Regions from separate parts of the Homo sapiens genome. Here all the other regions are linked to region 2. The links are contacts of gene promoters, found by promoter capture Hi-C in blood cells and fetal thymus (Javierre and others, 2016). All regions are on one chromosome and are shown on one strand. Each heading gives the region's core, a stretch centred on a gene start or on the middle of the fragment in contact. The rest is flanking DNA. Distances are from core to core; before and after follow the strand shown.

The links. Contacts are between HindIII fragments. The CHiCAGO score rates a contact against its expected background, and 5 or more counts as called.
Region 1: a fragment that was not itself captured here is called in contact with the fragment with the promoter of SEC24B in region 2 in 7 of 17 cell types (naive CD4 T cells, activated CD4 T cells, non-activated CD4 T cells and 4 more); the score reaches 9.4 in naive CD4 T cells.
Region 3: a contact is called between a fragment that was not itself captured here and the fragment with the promoter of SEC24B in region 2, in 3 of 17 cell types (naive CD4 T cells, naive CD8 T cells and activated CD4 T cells). The highest score is 5.9, in naive CD4 T cells.

The regions. Positions count from the first base shown.
Region 1 is chr4:109,670,331-109,673,030 of GRCh38, reverse strand. All of the region lies in intron 4 of MCUB (mitochondrial calcium uniporter dominant negative subunit beta), which reads right to left. It also overlaps a transcript of CASP6 not described here. Among named protein-coding and RNA genes, the nearest start is that of CASP6, 32 kb to the left of the region's middle. The HindIII fragment of the contact is 3,992 bases long and covers 1-2,700 here.
Region 2 is chr4:109,432,392-109,435,091 of GRCh38, reverse strand. SEC24B (SEC24 homolog B, COPII component) reads right to left here and starts at 1,277. Exons shown (of 24, transcript NM_006323.5): 1 at 1,090-1,277. The coding sequence starts at 1,222. SEC24B-AS1 (SEC24B antisense RNA 1) reads left to right here and starts at 1,275. Exons shown (of 3, transcript NR_039978.1): 1 at 1,275-1,358. RefSeq lists enhancers at 298-447, 524-1,383 and silencers at 265-559, 938-1,207, 1,258-1,647. The HindIII fragment of the contact is 940 bases long and covers 430-1,369 here.
Region 3 is chr4:109,635,746-109,638,445 of GRCh38, reverse strand. The region is part of intron 1 of MCUB (mitochondrial calcium uniporter dominant negative subunit beta); the gene reads right to left. Among named protein-coding and RNA genes, the nearest start is that of CASP6, 66 kb to the left of the region's middle. The HindIII fragment of the contact is 210 bases long and covers 1,323-1,532 here.

The DNA.
Region 1 (2,700 bases), core at 20-2,519, 240 kb before region 2:
TTTAATTTCTTTTTTCTTGTTTGTATTTGAAAATCCCGCATAATGTTCAAATATACAATTAAAATTTTAAAAAATTATTTTTGTTTGAGGGGTCCTCAGAGAAATGGCTGATAAAAGTGATGGGACATGATAGGTACAAGGTCAACCTGGATCATCTTTCTATATCAAAAAGTAAAAGTACTTACAAAAAAAGGGGGAGAGGGAGCAAGTCACAAAGACACAGGAGTCACTGGTGTTCAAACTGTACCAGATAATGGTTAGCTGGAGCTGCTTCAAGCTGGAGGACTTTTTTTAACAGAAATTTCTTATCTAAATTCCCTCCCTGTTGATGGCTCTTGCCTGATCTAGAATTTGGCTGCAAAGTGATGATTTTCCACCTCCAGAAACTCTCCCACATTTACCAGTAGATGCTCAGCACCTCACTGTAAGTAAGAGCCTTCTATTATTTGTTGATCTATTTCTTTTATCACCAATTTATTAAGGCATAGACTTATGAATTTCTTCCTCCTACCCTTAACAGTCTATAATTATAGCTTACTGGGAGAAGAAGCCTCAGGAGCCAATACTAGCCAGAATTCTTAAACTGTAATTGGTGAATTGCTGGACACTCAGTGTAAACTAGCATTGAAGGAAAAACTCCCACACTTTCATGAGTTTTATCTCCTGGAACCTTACCAGGTTCTCACAGTGAAGATCAGAGATCAGAGAAAAATACTCTCCCTGCTTTGGGCAGGAGGGAAGGAAAAATAACCATTCTGAAATAGCCCTGAGCACATGTCCTCCATAATAGGAAACTACTTTACCAGAGCCTTATCTGGCTTGGAGAAAGGGCAATTAGTCAACTACAGACCCCTCTAGCCTTACTGCCTCACACAGGAGAATAAAAGAGGCTAAGAAACTCTTGTAAATATTACATTTTAGAGACACAGGCCCAATTAAAAATATATATATATTTAATAATAAGATTATAGAATGATTCCTCTCCTCAATATCTTACCACTACATTAACAGGGCTCCAGTTTTATACAAGGCACAGATTCTATTTGAGAAAGAATTTATAGGGAAACCCCAAAACATCAGGAGAAACAAAAATAAGGACACTAGAGGAAAGCCTCTGATACCTACAGCTACAGCAAACATTAAACATCTAACTCCTAGCCACATAAAACCTCACACTAAAGACCTATTCAGCTCAGTTTCTATTGCCTGATACATCATGTCTAGCTTTCAGCAAAAAATTTAAAGACAAGCTAAAAGGCAAAGAAAAAAACAACAACAACCACAGTTTGAAGAGACAAAACAAGCATCAGAACCAGGCTCTGATATGGCAGAGATTTTGGAAGTATCAGAGTAGGATAGTAAAGCAACTATGATTAAAGGCTCTAATGGAAAAAGTGCACAATATGCAAGAACAGATGAGTAATGTAAATGGAGAGATAGAAACTTAGAAAGAACCAAAAGGAATTGCTAGAAATAAAAACCACTGTAACAGAAATGAAGAATGCCTTTGATGGGCTCATCAGTAGACTACACACTGGGGAGGAAAGAATCAGTCAGCTTGGGGGTATGCCAACAGAAACTTTCTCAAACTGAAGGTCAAAGAGAAAAAAGAATGGAAAAAAAACCTAACAAAATATCTAAGAACTGTGGGACAATTGCACAAGTGTAACTTAGGCATAATGGGACTACTAGAAGAAGAAAAAAGAGAGAAGGGAAAAGCAGCACTATTTGAACTAATAATGGCTGAGAACTGTCCAAAAGAATATTGCTAATGGCCAAAATGGTAATTTGAGATGAAAAAAGCTCTCTTTAAGAAAAAGTTAAGACTTCCAGTTTCCTGTCTGACATAAAAAAACTCCAAAGTTGTCAGTCCATCCTAACAATTAATAAATGGCTGAATACAATGAAAATCAACAACTTTTCTTAGATGCATAAGAAAACTAAGGTTAGAGGGAAAATTGCTGTCGCCAAAATTGAAAAGATAGATAAATACAGACAATGACAACTTAGCGAAGCAGAGACTCATGAGCAGAAATCTGCAAAGAATCAGTACCAGGGTAGGAAAACCTGAACTGTAACTGACAAATTGCTGGAGGCTCAGCGTGGACAACTCTTGAAATGTAAGCATTCCAGGGAGTCCCATAGGTGGGCGCATTCCCACACTTTTGTGAGTTTCACTTCTAGGAGCTCTACTAGATACAGTGAAAACTGAAGAAAAATCTCCTCCTCCTTACGGCAGCAGGAAAGGAAAAGTAGTGATTTTGAAATATGCCAGAGAATTCTGTTCTTTTTCTTTTTCTTTTTTTTTTTTGGAGACAGAGTCTCCTCGCTCTGTTGCCCAGGCTGGAGTGCAATGACATGATCTTGGCTCACTGCAGCTTCCGCCTTCCGGGTTCAAGCGATTCTCCTGCCTCAGCCTCCCGAGTACCTGTGATTACAGGCACCTGCCCCCATGCCCAGCTAATTTTTGTATTTTTAGTAGAGACAGGGTTTCACCATGTTGGCAGGCTGATCTCAAACTCCTGACCCAGTGATCCCCACTCCCTCAGCCTCTCAAAGTGCTGGGATTAAAGGCATGAACCACTGCGCCTGGCCAAATTCTGTTACTCTTAACAAGGACTGTCCACAAGGTAAATTATTTTCCCAGAGCCTAACCGATTGGGATTTCATTAGAGCTTAGTTAACCTAGGGGAAAAGAAA
Region 2 (2,700 bases), core at 28-2,527:
TAGATAAAACAGGTCAATCATCTGGAGAGTACTAATGCAGTTTGGTTCTCGTACCAACACAGGACAGAGGTATTTTTCTAAATTCAGTCAATTACTTTCCAAGGTTCTCATCTGACATACTAAGAAGTCTGTAAGGAGAATTCCTCCACCCTTGGCCCCTATCCGCGAACATTCCAAATCTCAGCATTAGGGAATGCATATCCATCATTTTGCAGCCTACTAAAAGCCCACGACCTTAATATGAAAGCGGCTTTCGTGCTGCATTTGGCTGCTGCCTGTATGAAGGCCCTGCCTCAAAGCAGGGCCAACTCTGGCACGTTTTTTCATCTCTGAAAGTGGAGCTAGGAAAAACACCCAGATCTAAAGATGTTCGTTTAAATCCGTTTACATCTGCTCCCTTTCAAACACTACAAGCAAACTCCAAAAGCTTGAGCAGCAGCCGCAGCGGCAATGACAGTTCTTGAGGCCGAACTGGGTCAGGGTTACAGTTACACTTATATAGCATATTTACACCCTTTTGTCTACAAACTTGAGTGCAAACTTAAGTTTCCTCAAGGCAGCGTGTTCGCTGGGCCTCGGGAACCGAAGCAATTTTCCTGAGACAGGAAGGGCACAATCCACCCTGCTGGGTGGCTGCACCAGCCTTCTCCGGACCACGCACTCAGCGGCCTCGGCTTCTGGCCAGCTCTCGCAGCCAAGGGGTCGCTCGGGGCAACTCGCCCGCGTCCAGGCTAGGTAACTGGGTTTTACTACGTGGGCTCCCAGCTTTTCAGTCGCCCCTACTCGCCCGAGGCCGTTTCGGGCCTGGGGTCGCATTACATAAACAGCCACGGCCCCAGCTTTCCCAGGCCGGCCCCCGCCCCCACGCCAGGGGCGTCCCACCCCCGCGCGCCCCGCGCCGTGCCTTCCCTGCCCCCTACCCGCACCCAACCCGGACCCCGCGGCCTCCGCACCGCGCCCGCTCCCGTCCCTCGGGCCGGGCCTGGCCCCGAACGCCCTTCCCGGCCCGGCCCGCCCCGCCCCGATGTGGCCGTGCAGGCCGCCCAGCCGGTGCTAGGCCCCGCGCTCCGCCCGGGCCGCCCGCCTCACCGTTCTGCTGGTGCGGCGCCGGGCCCGCACCCGGGCCCGCGGGCGCTGCGGCTCCTGAGACGGCCGCTCCGCCGAACTTGGGCGGGATCCGGGCGCTGGCGGCCGGGTGAGAGGACCCGGCGGGGGCCGACATGACGGCGCTGGTGGCGACGGCGGCTCCGCTTCAGGGAGGTGGGCGGAGGGAAGGGAAGGCGGGGCCGGAGAGGAGAGAGGAAGAGGAAGGAACGCGCCTGGCGTCACTGAGGGTGTCACCCGGGACCGCGGCTCAGGTACCCAAGCTTCTCCGCGAGTCCAGCGCTGCCACTCGGCGGCCGCCGCGGGCGCGGGGATCCTGGGTCGCTCCGCCTTGACCCACGCGCCCCACGCCCCGGGACTTACACCTGGGGTCGCTCCCCGCACGCGCGGGCCTCGCGCCGGTGCCGCCGCAGCGCCCCCTGCAGGCCGGAGCCGAGCTGGCCCAGGCCTGAGTCTGGCCCGGGGTTCCGTGGCCCCAGTGCCGGCCCCGCGGCTGCTGCTCCGGCCCGGCCAGGTGCCTTCGTGTTGAGGCGAAAGGACTGGGCCTCAGTGGGTGAAGGGACCGGGTGGCCCGCTTCCACCTAGGGCAGAGGCTGGATCGGCCGCGGCGAGGCTGGGCCCAGCATTACTGGGAGGGGAACTTGAGAGCCGCGGGTTGATGTTCGGAGCTCAGGCGACGACTGACCACCCACCCTTCCTCGAAGAGGAACAATGGCTTGGGTTTGGTTTTTAATTTTTGATTCCCCCACCTCCCCTTTCTTGATTCCAAAGGAAATATAGCATTCAAGCGCCATGTCTGTTGGGAATATATAATTCCTTGGCAAAGAAAGAGGAAACATTTCTCTGATAAACACAAGAATCTCAGTAAGAATTGCATTATTGAGAACTTTTCCCACTGATAAAGTAGGGAAGAGGAAGGGGAAAATAGGGTAAGGGAATGCTGGAAGACAAACTTTAAACTTTATCTCCTTTTTTTTTTTTTTTTTTGTCGATTGTTGGTGCATCCTGTTGGTGTTCCGAGAAGTTGTGGCTCAGCTTGCTTTGTCTACATTAGTGGAATCTTTAAGTCTTTCTGGTCTGTCTCAGCATACTCACTGGCAGGCCCTAGACTACATTACCCAAGTCATTTTGCCGTCTTGGAATCCTGAGTATGTCATCACTCTGTATTGGAGATGAGATTGCTCAGAAACACTGAATTCAGAATGGGATCTAGCAAGATGGTATTTCTGGAGCAATAAGTCATTTACTGAATGATTATGCAAAGCATAAATTGCATTGTAGTCCTAGAATAATACAAAGCTTCCCTTTAGTTGTTGCCGTAAATTAATAACTGGCATTTTAATGCACTAAATGAATTTTAGTAGTTAGATTTATATCTTTGACTTCTAGGAATTTCAACTACATTAGAGTTCATATACACAAAAGGGGCAAGCCCTTTTCCACAGCATTTCCAGCTTCTCCACAGAAACCTAGCCCCACATGAGCAAAAGATCACACTCTGTGCTTCATCAAAGAGATTACACAATTACAGATTCCAGCATCTCCCAGGAGTCCTTTGAATTTGGATTAAGGTCTATAATTACGTGGGTAAGGGAA
Region 3 (2,700 bases), core at 178-2,677, 200 kb before region 2:
GTATCTTAATGTATGGTTTTTTTTTTTTTTTTTTAGATATAATGCTATTGCACACTTAATAGACTACAGTTCAGTAAATGTAACTTTTTGAGACAAGGTTTCGCTCTGTTGCCCAGGCTGGAGTGCACTGGCATGATCTCAGTTCACTGCTGCCTTGACCTCCTGGGTTCAAGTGATCCTCCTACCTCAGCCTCCCTAGTAATTGGGACTACAGGCATGCGCCACCATGTCCAGCTAATTTTTGTATTTTTTTGTAGACATGGGGTTTCACCATGTTGCCCACGTTTGTCTCAAACTCCTGGGCTAAAGTGATCCTCTTGCCTTGGCCTCCCAAAGTGCTGGGATTACAGGCATGAGCCACCAGGCCCTGGACTGTAAACATAACTTCAATATGCACTAGGAAACAAAACAAAACAAACAAAAAATGTTGTGACTCATTTTATTGCAAGACTTGCTTTACTGTAGTGGTCTGGAACCAAACCTGCAATATCTCTGAGGTATGCCTATATACAGTCATTTTAAACATTTTAAAAATTTACTTAATTATATTTTATTTCAATGGGTTTTGGGAACAGGTCGTATTTGGTTACATGAATTAGTTCTTTAGTGGTGATTTCTGAAATTTTGGTGCATTCATTACCCAAGTAGCACTGTACCCAGTGTGTAGTATATTCCCTCACCCCCCTCCCACCATTTTCCCGAGTCCCCAAAGTACACTGTATCATTCTTACGCCTTTGGGTACTCATAGCTTAGCTCCCACTTATGAATGAGAACAAAAATGTTTGGTTTTCCATTCCTGAGTTACTTCACTTAGAGTATTAGTCTACAATTCCATCCAGGTTGTTGCAAATGCCATTACTTCATTCCTTTTTATGGCTGAGTAATATTCCATTGTGTGTGTGTGTACACTACATTTTCTTTATTCACTTGTTGATTGATGGGCATTTGGGCTGGTTCCATAGTTTTGCAATTGCAAATTGTGCTGCAATAAACAAGGGTGTGCAAGTATCTTTTTCGTATAATGACTTCTTTTCCCCTGGGTAGATACTTGTATAAAGTCATTTAGTCCTCAATTAATTCAGCTAATTTTACTGAACACCTAGTATGTACTGAGTGACTAGCCTCTTTCAAACTTCAGCCACAAAACCAGTCATCTTTCCCTGCTCCCTTATGGTTACACTGGAAGAAGTCTTTCTGTGTCCCCATAGGGCTGACACATTTCCCCACAGCTTGGGATCATATCTCCTTCCAAGTGACCTTACTTTACTGAGTATCTTTCTCAACTGCATCTTCCTCATCAGCAGGTAAGTCTGCTCAAGCTTCTCCTGCCTTCTGACTGCCCTTTCTCTATGCCTGCTTCCTCTTCCTTCCATAGCTAAATGACTTGAACAAGTTGGTGACATTTATTATCTCTATCTCCTCATCTTTCACACATTCCTGACCCATTGCAATCTGGCTTCTGCCCCATCATTTCACTAAAATTACTCTCAGAAGGCCACTGGACTACTGGTCTCTAGATCATATGAAAGCTTTTCATTGCTGACCTTGCAGAAGCAATCGCCACTTTTGATCACTCTCTCTTCCTTGAAACATTTTTGTTGTTGTTTTTTGAGATGGAGTCTCACTCCGTCTCCCAGGCTGGAGTGCGGTGGCACGATCTTGGCTCACTGCAACCTCCGCCTCCCAGGTTCAAGCGATTCTCCTGCCTCAGCCTCCCAAGTAGCTGGGATTACAGGTGGGCACCACCATATCAGGCTAATTTTTGTATTTTTAGTAAAGATGGGGTTTTGCCACGTTGGCCAGGTTGGTCTCGAACTCCTGACCTCAGGTGATCTGCCCGCCTCGGCCTCCTAAAGTGCTGGGATTATGGGTGTGAGCCACTGTGCCCGGCCAAACATTCTCTTTCTTAACTTTCATGACATCACATTCCGTTGGATTTCTGATTATATTTTCTCAGTTTACTTTAGAGATTCCTCTTCTTGTCATCCTTTAAATGTTGGTGTTTTCCAGAGTTCTAACAGAGGCTACCCTCTCTTATCTCACTCTAAGCAGTGTCCTTAGGCAATCTCATCTAGTCACGTTGCTTCAACTACATTACTTTGCTGATGGCTTGAAGCTGTATCTCCAGTCCAGAGCCTCTCCTTGTGCATCTAATTTGTATATATGTGACTGAAACCTTTTAGGGTATCTACCCAGTTCATACAATCTCCGATGTTTTAGAAATTGCCTCTACTTCCACCTAGAATGCAGCAGTGGTGGGCCTCCCAAAACCATGTCTGTACTATGTGACCCTTAATCCCCTCATTGTAATTGACCAGATACCAGCTCCAAGCTGGGTCAGTTAGATACCCAGTCCCGGAATTAGATTGAGACTAAGTCTATGCTCAAAATGAAACTTTTGTACACTACTGTTGGGAGTGTCAACTACACTTTGGAAAACTGGCAGTATCTCTAAATACACATATACCTAATGACCCAGAAATTCTACTCCTAAGTGTAAACCAAAATAATTAATTGCATATGTTCTTAAAAGACAAACAAAGTTTAGAGCTGCATTTTACATAATAAGCAAAAACTGGAAACCACACAAATCTTCATCATCAGTACAAATGATACGGCTCGGATGAGTGGAGAAACACCAGGGCTTTTTTGTTTTACCTTGAATTAGATGAGAAGACACAGACACACGTGGAGTGGTT